Regions from separate parts of the Homo sapiens genome. Here region 2 is linked to region 1. Evidence: promoter capture Hi-C in human tissues and cell types (Jung and others, 2019). All regions are on one chromosome and are shown on one strand. The core of a region is centred on a gene start or on the middle of the fragment in contact, and the rest is flanking DNA. Distances in the headings are between cores, read along the strand shown. Region 1 holds the start of OVCH1-AS1 (OVCH1 antisense RNA 1). Region 2 has its middle 76 kb from the start of FAR2.

What was found. Contacts are between HindIII fragments. The study calls those that stand out against the background at their distance.
Region 2: a fragment that was not itself captured here is called in contact with the fragment with the promoter of OVCH1-AS1 in region 1 in 1 of the 25 tissues and cell types used here (small bowel).

What each region holds. Positions count from the first base shown.
Region 1 is chr12:29,385,222-29,391,571 of GRCh38, forward strand. OVCH1-AS1 (OVCH1 antisense RNA 1) reads left to right here and starts at 4,073. Exons shown (of 2, transcript NR_073172.1): 1 at 4,073-4,632. The HindIII fragment of the contact is 7,391 bases long and covers 1-6,350 here.
Region 2 is chr12:29,070,585-29,076,934 of GRCh38, forward strand. No RefSeq gene overlaps it. Among named protein-coding and RNA genes, the nearest start is that of FAR2, 76 kb to the right of the region's middle. The HindIII fragment of the contact is 3,937 bases long and covers 2,708-6,350 here.

The DNA.
Region 1 (6,350 bases), core at 2,823-5,322:
GGAAAGATAGGACAGAATAGCAAGCTAAAGGGGTCCGATGGTACTCACTGCTTGGCAATAGGTGATTGTCTCACCGCTCAGCAATAGGCGATGGTCTTACTGCTTGGTGATTGGCGAAGGTCCCATCTGGGTCGCCAAAATGTGTCTGGAATTGGTGGGTTCTTGGTCTCACTGACGTCAAGAATGAAGCCGCGGACCCTCGCCGTGACTGTTACAGTTCTTAAAGGCGGCATGTCCGGAGTTTGTTCCTTCTGATGTTCAGATGTGTTCGGAGTTTCTTCCTTCTGGTGGGTTCATGGTCTCGCTGGCTCGGGAGTGAAGCTGCAGACCTTTGCGGTGAGTGTTACAGCTCTTAAAGGCAGTGTGGACCCAAAGAGTGAGCAGTAGCAAGATTTATTGCAAAGAGCGAAAGAACAAAGCTTCCACAGTGTGGAAGGGGACCCGAGCAGGTTGCCACTGCTGGCTCAGGCAGCCTGCTTTTATTCTCTTATAAGTCCCCACCTACATCCTGCTGATTAGTAGAGCCAAGTGGTCTGTTTTGACAGGGCACTGATTGGTGCACCTACAATCCCTGAGCTAGACACAAAGGTTCTCCACATCCCCACCAGATTAGCTAGATACAGAGTGTCCACACAAAGGTTCTCCAAGGCCCCACCAGAGTAGCTAGATGCAGAGTGTCGATTGGTGCATTCGCAAACTCTGAGCTAGACACGGTGCTGATTGGTGTGTTTACAAACCTTGAGCTAGATACAGAGTGCCGATTGGTGTATTTACAATCCCTGAGCTAGACATGAAGGTTCTCCAAGGCCCACCAGAGTAGCTAGATACAGAGTGTCGATTGGTGCATTCACAGACCCTGAGCTAGACACAGGGTGCTGACTGGTGTATTTACAATCCCTGAGCAAGACATAAAGGTTCTCCACATCTCCACCAGACTCAGGAGCCCAGCTGGCTTCACCCAATGGATCCCGCACCTGGGCTGCAGGTGGAGCTGCCTGCCAGTCCCACACGGTGCGCCGGCACTCCTCAGCCCTTGGGTGGTCGATGGGACTGGGCGCCGTGGAGCAGGGGGCCGCGCTAATCTGGGAGGCTCGGGCCGCACAGGAGCCCACGGAGGGGGTGGGAGGCTCAGGCATGGCGGGCTGCTGGTCCCGAGCCCTGCCCCGCGGGAGGGCGGCTAAGGCCCGGCGAGAAATCAGCACAGCACCGGTGGGCTGGCACTGCTGGGGGACCCAGTACACCCTCCGCAACCACTGGCCCGGGTGCTAAGCCCCTCACTGCCCGGGGCCGGCAGGGCCGGCCGGCTGCTCCAAGTGTGGGGCCTGCCAAGCCCATGCCCACCGGGAACTCCAGCTGGCCCGCAAGCGCCGCGCGCAGCCTCGGTTCCCGCTGGGGCCTCTCCCTCCACACGTCCCTGCAAGCTGAGGGAGCCGGCTCTGGCCTTGGCCAGCCCAGAAAGGGGCTCCCACAGTGCAGCGGTGGGCTGAAGGGCTCCTCAAGTGCCGCCAGAGTGGGAGCCCAGGCAGAGGAGGCGCCAAGAGCGAGCGAGGGCTGTGAGGACTGCCGGCACGCTGTCACCTCTCAATAGGTTTCAGACTGAGATTAATAATTGTTCCATAACAACCTGTATTTAGTAAAGATGATCAAAAGGTGCTTTTGTGCCATTTTTTTCTTTCTCTAGTTTGAGTAAAAGTTTCAGCAAGTGAGCAGCAAAATTTAGATAAACTAATAAATGAATAATTTTTACAATGGAATGCCCATAAGCACCTCAAAGTCAGCACATCCAAAATGGATTTTTTTTTGTCTTTTTTTTGAGACAGAGTCTAACTCAGTTGCTCAGGCTGGAGTGCAGTGGCGCGATCTCGGCTCACTGCAACCTCCACCTCAAGCAATTCTGGTGCCTCAGCCTCCTGAGTAGCTGGGACTACTGGCATGAGCCGCCATGCCTGGTTAATTGTGTGTGTGTGTGTGTGTGTGTGTGTGTGTGTGTGTGTGTGTGTGTATTTTCAGTAGAGATGGGGTTTCATCATGTTGCCCAGGCTGGTCTGGAACTCCTGCCCTCAAGTGATCTGTCCCCACCATGGCCTCCTTAAGTCCTGGGATTACAGGTGTAAGCCACCGTGCCCAGTACCCAAGTGGATTTCATAATTTATCTCCAAATCTATTTCTTCTCCTCTGTGCCTAGAAAAGTCAATGGCACCATTAACCTCAAACTTAACCAGGTTAGAATTTTTGTGTCTCCTCCACCTTTTCTCTAGCTGCCAATCCCAGTGACCCATCAGTTTTATTCATGAGGCTATTCCCGATCTCATGCTATACACCAGGCCTTCATTATCACTTGCTTCAACCACAGGTGATCCTCAGTGATATAGTCTGATTTTAAATTTACATTTTCAAACATTGTAGTTTACTCTTTCAAATCATTTTTTTTTTCATATGCCAAGTTGGGACTTGAAAGTCTTTTTTTTTTGACAGAGTCTCACTCTGTCCCCCAGGCTGGAGTGCAGTGACACAATCTCGGCTCACTGCAACCTTCACCTTCACCTCCTGGGTTCAAGCGATTCTCCCGCCTCAGCCTCCCAAGTAGCTGGGAGTACAGGCACCCACCACCCCATCAGGCTAATTTTTGTACTTTTAGTAGAGGCGGGGTTTCACCGTATTGATCAGGCTGGTTTCGAACTCCTGACCTCAAATAATCCACCCACCTTGGCCTCCCAAATGCTGGGATTATAGGAGTGAGCCATGGCGCCTGACCTTAAAAGTCTTATATCACTTTTTCACATGACAAGTTTAGATTTCATAATCAGCTGATGAATAAATACTTTCAGTCCATGCACAGTCTGTGCCATCTGATACCTCTGTTTCAGCAAGGTAATCACTTCTATCTATAAAGCATTGTTTGTGCAATATTTTAATAGGATTAATAGGCTCAAATGAACCACAGATCTGTCAACTGAACTTGCAGTCTGGCCACTCTTGTAACAAATATTCATTTCATTAAGCACCTTTAATATGACAAATGATGTGCTAAGTACCAAGTACTTTGTCATAGTGACAAAGCAGACACTCTTACCCTCATGGAATTTGTACTATATATTGTGGGTAAAAAGGGATCCAATAAATAAACTCCCCAAAAATATATGGCTGGTGTTATTTATCTTGATAGGTGTTAGTACATAGTCTTAATAATTATCAATAATATATTACTATATGTATTTAACATATTGTACCGTAGGCCCAATATCTTTCAGTGCAAAAATACTCAGCTGAAATACGTTTTTCATTTCAAATACTTATCTATATTGATTACAACATTCTAATTTAGTGTTTTACTTTCCATTTCCAAATATTCTTTCATCAATATTATCTGTTCTTCTTTTCATCATAAATGTATTTATTTCATCTATTAGTATTTTCTATAATCTATATTTTAAGTCATTTCAGCTCTTTTTATATTTCTTAAACCTTTTAAAAGCATAATTGTATGCTAAAAGTGGGTGAGGTTTTAAAACTAAGTGCCTAAGACATAATATAAATATTTTATTGTTCTCTATTACATTAAAAAGTGGTAACCTATTTAATTCACATGCTATGGTCAAATTTTAATTTCAATAATATGACACAAATAAATACTCAGAAATGCTGACAAATCTTATCACCTGTGAAACTCAAATGTTTTCAGGGGTCATGAAGATAGCATACTTGTCTCATCCAATGACTTTCAAATTCATCCTTCTTTAAAATGTTGTGCTGGACTTTGGAGACACAAATGTGGCCTTCCAGAGTGACAGGCCTTATAACAATCCTTGTAACAATTACTACTTTATTTTTACCTGTTAATATTTATATATTAATAAACCCAACTGAACCTAAGAGAATATCTAAGACAAGTACATTTGTGTATGTGTGTGCCTTCATGTATGTGATTTTTATGTACATGATGAACTGTCTTAATTATAAAGAAAAGGAAAAAAACATGATGCTATGAGAAAAAAATGAACATTCAACTGAGCAGAGCAGAAGATATTTTTATATTTCCTGATACAAAAATCTAACTTCAGTTCCGGTCTGGCAGAGAGCGCGGAGAGACGCAGAACGCAGCCAGCTCCTCCAGGGCCCTCCAGGCCCTCCGGACCCGGGCCGGCGGGTGAACTGGGGGGCCCCGGGACAGGCCGAGGCCTCTGCCCTGCAGATACCGGAGGCCTCTGCTGTGGCTGCCCACTGGCTGTGCCCAGGCCTTGAAGCCGCAGCGAACCTCTCTTTCCCACCCCACCTGGATGACTGATGGCGGCGGCTGCGTCTCCCCGACGGGACCCCGCCGGCCGCCGCGTCTCCCGACCCAAGCCTGCCGGGCCTCGACGAAACCCCCGCAGAGTCGCTGGGACGCAGCGCCTTTGGGCGGCGCCGGGCGTGGTGGGCCGGAAAGTATGGCGGCCGCTTGAACGCCGCGCGGCGGAGGCCATTAAGGCGTGGAGGGCCCGGGAAGGCGGCCTAGGGACGCAAGCAGGCTCGGCCACCTCTTTAGGCCACGGAGCCGCGCAGATCCGGTTCCCGGGTGACCACTCTGTCGCCATTGGGCGAGACCGACCTAGTCCTGACGACAACGGACAAAGGCCTTCAGGGGCCTGGAAGGTGAGTGAAGTCCCGAAAGACGACGGGTGGAACGGTTAGCGGCTATCGGGCGGTTGGTCTTTGTTCTACCAGACTTTGCTGTCAGAAGAGAGAAATGGTAGAATGACAGGCCACGTTTGGCCCGTTGGAAATGCCCACCACCCTCTGGGAAGATTTACTGGCCGTTTATGTAAGGCCTGTGTATATAATATGAAAAAGCTGCTCTCAACTTCACCCCAACCTTTTAATAGAAAACATTTGTCACATCTAGCCCTTCTAGATGGAAAGAGGTTGCCGACATATGATAAAATAGAAAGTCACACATCTTGTAAATTCTCATTTGTTTAAAAGAAATCATAGAAAACACATGTCTTCTGGAGATGACTTTTAGAAATGGAGTTGTTAAGACGGCCTCTGGAAGCGATACGTCCACGTTTGTTAAGTGGGTTAGATGACATGGAGGTGGAAGACCTGAGAAGGAAGAGAAGAAGGTTCTGTGCTAGACTGGTCATATTTAGAAGACATTTTCATATTCTATCCATTGTTTTGTGTGCATTTTATTCTTCACTACTGTGTATATAGTTGACAATGCTAAGCTTTTTTGAAATGTCTATTCTTTTTAGATGTTCTGAAGTGCCTGATATGTTAAAATTAGAGGTAGCAAAATCACATTTTGTAAATACCTTTTTGTTACAAATCATAGGAAATGTTTTTTGGGGGGAATGGCCAAATCACCTGTTGAGTAATGCTCATTGTGCAGTGTGGTTCAGGGGAAGAGAGAGGAGGGGGAGGTGCAGAGAGCTCTATGACATCCTGTTTACAGCGAGGCAAGATGAATCATTATCTCTGTGCGTTTTGTTTTACTTATCTGTGTATATAGTGTACATAAAGGACAGACGAATCCTAATTGACAACATCTAGTCTTTCTGGATGTTAAAGAGGTTGCCAGTGTATGACAAAAGTAGAGTTAGTAAACTAATATATTTTGTACATTTTGTTTTACAAGTCCTAGGAAAGATTGTCTTCTGAAAATTTGATGTATTCTGGGTTGATGGAAATGGGAAGGGTTCTAGGCCAGAATGTTCACATTTGGAAGACTCTTTCAAATTATAACTGTTTTTACATGTTTGCAGTTTATTCAAGACTGCTGTATACATAGTAGACAAATTAACTCCTTACTTGAAACATCTAGTCTATCTAGATGTTTAGAAGTGCCCAATGTATGTTAAATGTAGAGGTAGTAAAATACCACTTTGTAAATATCTTTTTGCTAAAATTCATAGGAAATACTTCTGGAAATTGAATTGTGAAGCCACCTTTGTGAGCAGTATAGTAATGTCTATACTTGTTCAATGGTTTAGAGGAAGTGGGAGGGAAGAAATTGCAAAAGGTAATATACTAGTGTGTTCATACTTGGACGTTTTCAGACACCATTTTTCTATATGTTTTGTGCATTTTGTTTTGCTCTGTATATAGTGTATATAATGGACAAATAGTCCTAATTTTTCAACATCTAGTCTCTAGATGTTAAAGAGGTTGCCAGTGTATGACAATGTAGTAAAATTAGCATATTTTGTACTCTTTGTGTTGAAATTCATACGAAAACTTGTCTTCTGTAAATGACTTTTGCATAGGAATTTGGTCAACCATCTCTAAGCATTACATGTGCCTGTACTTGTCCACTGGATTGAAGGCAGAGAAGGAAGGGAGGGGGGAATGATTCAAGGCCAAAATGGCCA
Region 2 (6,350 bases), core at 3,426-5,925, 310 kb before region 1:
TCTAAGTCACTCTGCTGGAGGCAAACGAAAACTCCAGAAAAAAACAATAATAATTCACAGTGTGAAATTAACTTTGATTAATTTACCAAAACATTTACATGGGTGCATTCAATATGAATGTTTTATTTAATGTATATATGAATTGTAGTTTGTATCAGGTATGAATCTTCATCTACAAAATAAAGTGTTCATTTACATAACAAAAAATATTTTACACCTACTGGACATTATTCTGTTCTGGAGACTTGAATTATAACAGTAAACAATATAGAGAAATGTGAAATGCAGACATTCCTACTTCCTTAACTATTGAACCTTTTAAATCAAATATATACAGTCCTATCTTGTGGTGATATCAATTTTCAGGGACAGAGCAATGTAAACCTATACTCAGGAAGGAAATATTTTTCTTTATTGCCTAATAACTACTTAGTTTTCCTTCCTGGAAACATCAAGATCCATTGCCCTGCAGAGCAGGGGTTAGTTCTATTCCCCACCTGGGACCTACCAGAAAAACAGAGGAACTACATTACCTTTCAACAGCTGCTTCTTGGGTAAGCACAAGAGAGACTCCAGTTTCACTGTTCTTATAAGGACTCATTATTTTATCTCCAATCTTCCAATGATGGTTGCTGGATAGGGAGAGAAAACAGTTGCCAGTGAAGAAAGGCAGTGATTAATTTCTCCAGTTCACATATAAATACACACAATTTGCACTGTGAGAAAACTGGAAGAACAAAGAATGTTTCTGGTGTAATGGGCATGTGTCTTAGTCATGGTAATTAAGACTTAGTATTACAAAGCCATTTGTCATTTAAAAGGCTCATTCTTGATCATTTTATTTGCTAATGTATTCTCATTATGAGACATGGAGGATGGAATGCTGCCTTAACTCAGCAGTTATCTTTGGTTATTGATTTTTTTCTGTAAAAATCAGAAAGACTTTCTTTTAGCTTGATTCAATTAAGACACCAAATAATATGGTTTTGAATTGCTTCAAAGGAAAAAAGCAGATGTAAAATCAGTGAATCATGTGAGCCATTGATATCAATTAGCTAAACCATGCCGAGGTGATCCCTGTTAGCAGTTAAGTTCTTCCTTTCCCCAGGACTACAATGCTCTGCAGAAAGGTGCCCTTAGGTTTAAAAGTGACACTGGTTGACATACTCAGAAAGCCTTCTGTTCAAATTCTACCTCTTGAAGAGCCTTTCCAATTGTGAGATCATTTGGACAATTTTGGACCATGCAGGATTCAAACATGAATGTCATATTAAGCTCAAGAATATATTTATGATTCCATACTTTCACCTACCTTGGAGTGATTTCTGTTGCACTCACTGAAATATCAGAGTAAGCTCAATATCAGATATTGATATAATATCAATACATAATATCAATATCAAGCTAAATATCAAAGTTAACTAACCACCATTAATCACCCAAAGCATAGATCAAATGCAAACCCATTATAGAAAAAAGAGAATGAGGAACAGTGTGTGTCCTTTTGGTCAGGAGTGTGCTAACACAGGAATAGATAGGATCCTAAAATGCAACAATCAATGGCAAGTGGTCTTTTTAATTTAGTGGGCAACCAGAGGTGACATGATTTGATGCCTTTCTGTCAGATGAAAAGAGCAAGAGTTTCTCTATGTTTTTTCATTTAAAAAATATTATGTCATAGATTTGAGGCTTACCTGTATTCAGCAAGAAGTAGAGGAGAAATTCCATGTGTATGTTAAAAATATAGCTGCAAAATTCTGCAATAAATATCTCTTCTATCATCCTTTTCAGGTCAAATATTATGATCCTTTGTGACAGCAAGATTTCAGGAAAGAGAATAAAATGTCAGAGAATGTAAATCTTTTATGATGACTGTGATGGTTAATTTTATGTGTCAACTTCAGTGGGCCATAGGATGCCTGGATATTTAGTTAAACACTATTCTGGGTGTATCTGTGAAGGTGTTTGCATGAGATTAATCGGTAGACTGAGTATAGCAGAGTATACTCCCTAATGAGGGAAGACCTTATCCCATCAACTGAAGGCCTGCATAGAAGAAAAGGCTGACCCGCCCCCAATAAGAGAGCATTCTTTCTGCCTGACTGCCTTAAACTGGGATGTAAGCTTTTTCCTGCTTTCAGAGTTGAACTGAAAAATCAGCTCTTCCTGGGTGTCTAGCCTGCCAGCCTTAACACTGAAATTGTATCATTAGCTCTCCTAGGTCTCCAGCTTCCTGAGTCACCCTGCAGACCTTGGGACTTAGCCTCCATAATTTCATGAGCTGCTCCTCATAATAAATTCCTTACATATATGCACACACATCCTATTGGTTCTGTTCTCTGAAGAACCCTGACTAATACAATGCTTGAGGGGATTTTTCTCAAGCATGAATAACTTTTGTTTCTCTTTCCTTCTTTTCTTCCTTTCTCCAAGCAGAATACAGATATTTACAGTTATCCCAAATACATTCATTGAATAGGTGACTGGATTTCTGATGACTACTTTATTTTTTATTACATTTCTGTATGCACTTGGGCATATCTGGGTTTTCTGTTCTAGCTCGTTAACCTGCCTACTCTCATGCCCATACCAATCTCTCTCCTTTTTAGTAATTTTTTAAAATTATAGTACCACTCTCTTTTAATTATTGGGATTTCATGAGTTTTAACATATGGTGTGTCCCCTACCCTTAACCTTTATTGCTATTTTTTGTCAGCTTTCTACTGGATGTTCTTTTGGAAAAAAAAATTCATTTTTAAATTGAGGTAAAATTTATGTATAGTGAATTACATAGCTCTTAAATGTAGTTCAATGAGTCTTGCCAATTTTCCATGCCCATTTCTACATACAATGTTGTATTTTGTTTTATTTGTTCTGTTTTGAGAAGTGATGTATTTATGATGTTAAATATTCCTATACAAGTATAAGGTACATTGTTTTCCATGCGATCAAGTGTTTTTTCTGTGTTATTGTATGGAAGGTCACCAGCTGAGCATCCGTACTGTGTGAGGACACAAAATAAACTCTATTAAGTTAAGCACCTTAAGTTTGGAGGTTGTTTGTTACAGCAGTTAGCCCATACCAACCAATACAACTAGATTTAACACCAGGCTTGGTTTGTACTTTGCTGTTTTATCATGGTTGTGTTATATTTGTTGACAAGTTCCTGGTATAGTGAGTGCTCTTAATATTCAAATGTACAATTTGTTAGTGTAAGTGAATTACTACAAAGCGCCACTAGGTGTCCTCTAGCAATAATTTTCCCTGGCCTGCTGAAAGACTGACTGAAGCTTTATTTTTTCCCTTGGCTGTACTGCTGAATTGGTCCCCAGGACTCCACCCTCCTGCCATCACTGCTAACATACCAGAAAAATGAGAACCTTTTGTTGTTTTTAAGAACGTAGTTAAGTATATCATTCTTCTTAAGAACAAAAGTGTAGACTTTATCATGTTATAAAGAACCCACTATCAGAGACACATTTGTGATTTTTCTGAAAGTTGCTCAAGAACAGATTTGGAAGAGACAATTTATACTGTATACCTCTCCCATTTCTCTCCTATCTATTCTTTAGCATTCTAACACAGCAGAAAAATGGTCAAACAACATCAAGGCCAGCCAGTCCTGGAGGAGAGCAGTAATTGCGATAATTATTATGTTGGTGCAAAAGTAATCGCGGTTTCTGCCATTAAAAGTAATGGCACCAACCTAATACAAAGAGGTGGCATCTTAGAAAAGGCAGTGGGCAGGCCGGGCATGGTGGCTCATGCCTGTAATCCCAGCACTTTGGGAGGCCAAGGAGGGCGGATCACCTGAGGTCGGGAGTTCAAGACCAGCCCGACCAACATGGTGAAACCCCATCTCTACTAAAAATACAAAATTAGCCGGCTGTGGTGGCGCATGCCTGTAATCCCAGCTACTCGGGAGGCTGAGGCAGGAGAATCGCTTGAACCCGGGAGGTGGAGGTTGTGGTGAGCCGAGATCAGGCCATTGCACTCCAGCCTGGGTGACAAGAGCGAAACTCTGTCTCAACAAAAAACAAAGCAAAACAAAACAAACAAACAAAAAAAACAGAAATGGCAGTGGGCACTGAGAGAGAGGGATGAGCTTGAAAGGTATAGAAGAGATAAAATATACAAGACGTGACAACCATTAGGTGTTGTAAGTATGAAAGAGAAAGAAGTCCGGAAAATCTCCAGCATTCCCGGATCAAGGCAACAGGGGCATGGTGGTTCTTCTGACTGAGATAAGAAAAACTGAAGAAGGAAAAGGCTTGTGGTACAAGGCAGAAAGGAATATGTTTACATTTTTTAACATGTTAGTTTTGATGTGTCTGGGGGACATCCAAGTGAACATCTCAAATTGACTGAAAGAATTCTGAAGATTTTTGGTTAAAGAAAGGGAAGTAGAAGATGTTTTACTCTTCTCCACTCCCTCAAACTCCACCAAAAGCAAACAAAAAAAGTAGAGGAAAAATAATCTATCTTCAGTGAGACCTGGAACAGGACACAACCACAAGCCACAAACTAGGAGGCATATCTGCCAAGCACTGGGAAGTCTAGACGAAGATGAGAGAAGAGAGACTCCTAAGAGCTAGACCAAGACAACTAGTTTCCCAAGAAGTTTATGTCACCAGTAGCCTAAAAATTCCTTTGATTAGAGTGTTGAGCTCTTTGGGTATAAAGAGGCTTTGAGAATGGTGAGAGGGGGGTGTCCTTAGGGAGACCCAGGATAATGACTCGGAATGCAGGAAAAATGCAGTAGAAAGTCAAATCATGCTGTGAGAAGTAGGGGAAGAGTAGGTGAGGAGTGTGTGTGTGTGTGTGTGTGTGTGTGAGAGAGAGAGAGAGAGAGAGAGAGAAAGAAGAGATTCACAATGTGGTGTTCTAGCTAAGGGAGACCTCTGGAGGTGAAGTGGGGTGAAAGAGGGAGGGGAAACGGTTATAGTCAAACTGCAACACAGAGCTGATGATTTAAATACTTTGCTGTCATCCTCAACCATTCCTAACTACAATATGTATGTATGTATGTATGTATGTACATGTGTATGTATGTATTAGCATGTTTCTGGCATCCATTTGAGGATGAGTAATAACTATAAAAAAAAAAAACCAGCCAGGCACTGTGGCTCATGCCTGTAATCCCAGCACTTTGGGAGCCCAAGGCAGGCGGCTCACTTGAGATCAAGAGTTCAAGACCAGCCTGGCTAACATGGTGAAGCCCCGTCTCCACTAACAATACAAAAAAATTAGCTGAGTGTGGCAGCGCGTGCCTGTAATCCCAGCTACATGGGTAGCTGAGGCAGGAGAATCACTTGAACCTGGGAGGCAGAGGTTGCAGTGAGCCGAGATTGTGCCACTGCACTCCAGCCTAGGTGATAGAATGAGACTCCGTCTCAAAAAAAAAAGAAGGAAAGAAAGAAAGAAAGAAAAGAAAGAAAGAAAGAAAGAAAGAAAGAAAGAAAGAAAGAAAGAAAGAAAGAAAGAAAGAAAGAGGGAAAGAAAGAAAGAAAAAGAAAGAAACCAGCATGGGACTAATACATAAAAGCTGTGCCGAAAAAAAGGAAAACAAAACATATATGCAAAAGGCAGATAAAAAAACATACTTCACCCAAAGGAAAGAGAGGAATTACCCAGAATATAGATAAAGAGTAGTTCTCTGCATGATAAGGAAATCTTGTGATCTCAATTTAGAAGAGACAACATGAATGGGATAAAATTTGTCATAGATAATTGCTGTTCTGGGCTGCTGCTTCTCTTAGTAATAGTAACAGAATTTATTGTCTGCCCTCACACAACCAAATCCTTTCAAAGAAAATTATTCTACCTTAATATCTATGGGTCATGTTTCATTCATAGTGATTAGTTCAGGGATGGACTTGTGACCTGAATTGATCAATGCATAAGGAAGCTGTTATTTCTGTGCAACATTTAGATTAGAAAAAAAAATTTACTCTTTTATTTCCATGTGAATGAGAAATTTGGGAAGCTGCTGATAACAATTTTACTACCATCAGGGGAACTTCTGCCCAAAACAGAACCAACACCAAAGGAGCTCATTCAAAAAGGAGAGAGAGAGAGAAAAAAAAAAAAAGTCCTGAACTCATAGTTTTCACCCTGGCTAAACTCATTCCCTATTCTCTTCAAGATCCAATCAATTTTCCATTATTATTTAAGCCACTTGAGTAAGGTTATTTGCTGCCATTTTCAGAAATGTTCCTAACTAAAATACAAGAGACCAAGAAAAGATACTTCATAGTATAGTATTGATTGTATTCTTCTTTTGTGTCAAGCACAATACTAAGCACTTCATGTGAAGTATTTTATTTAAACATGCACACGTATGTTTATTG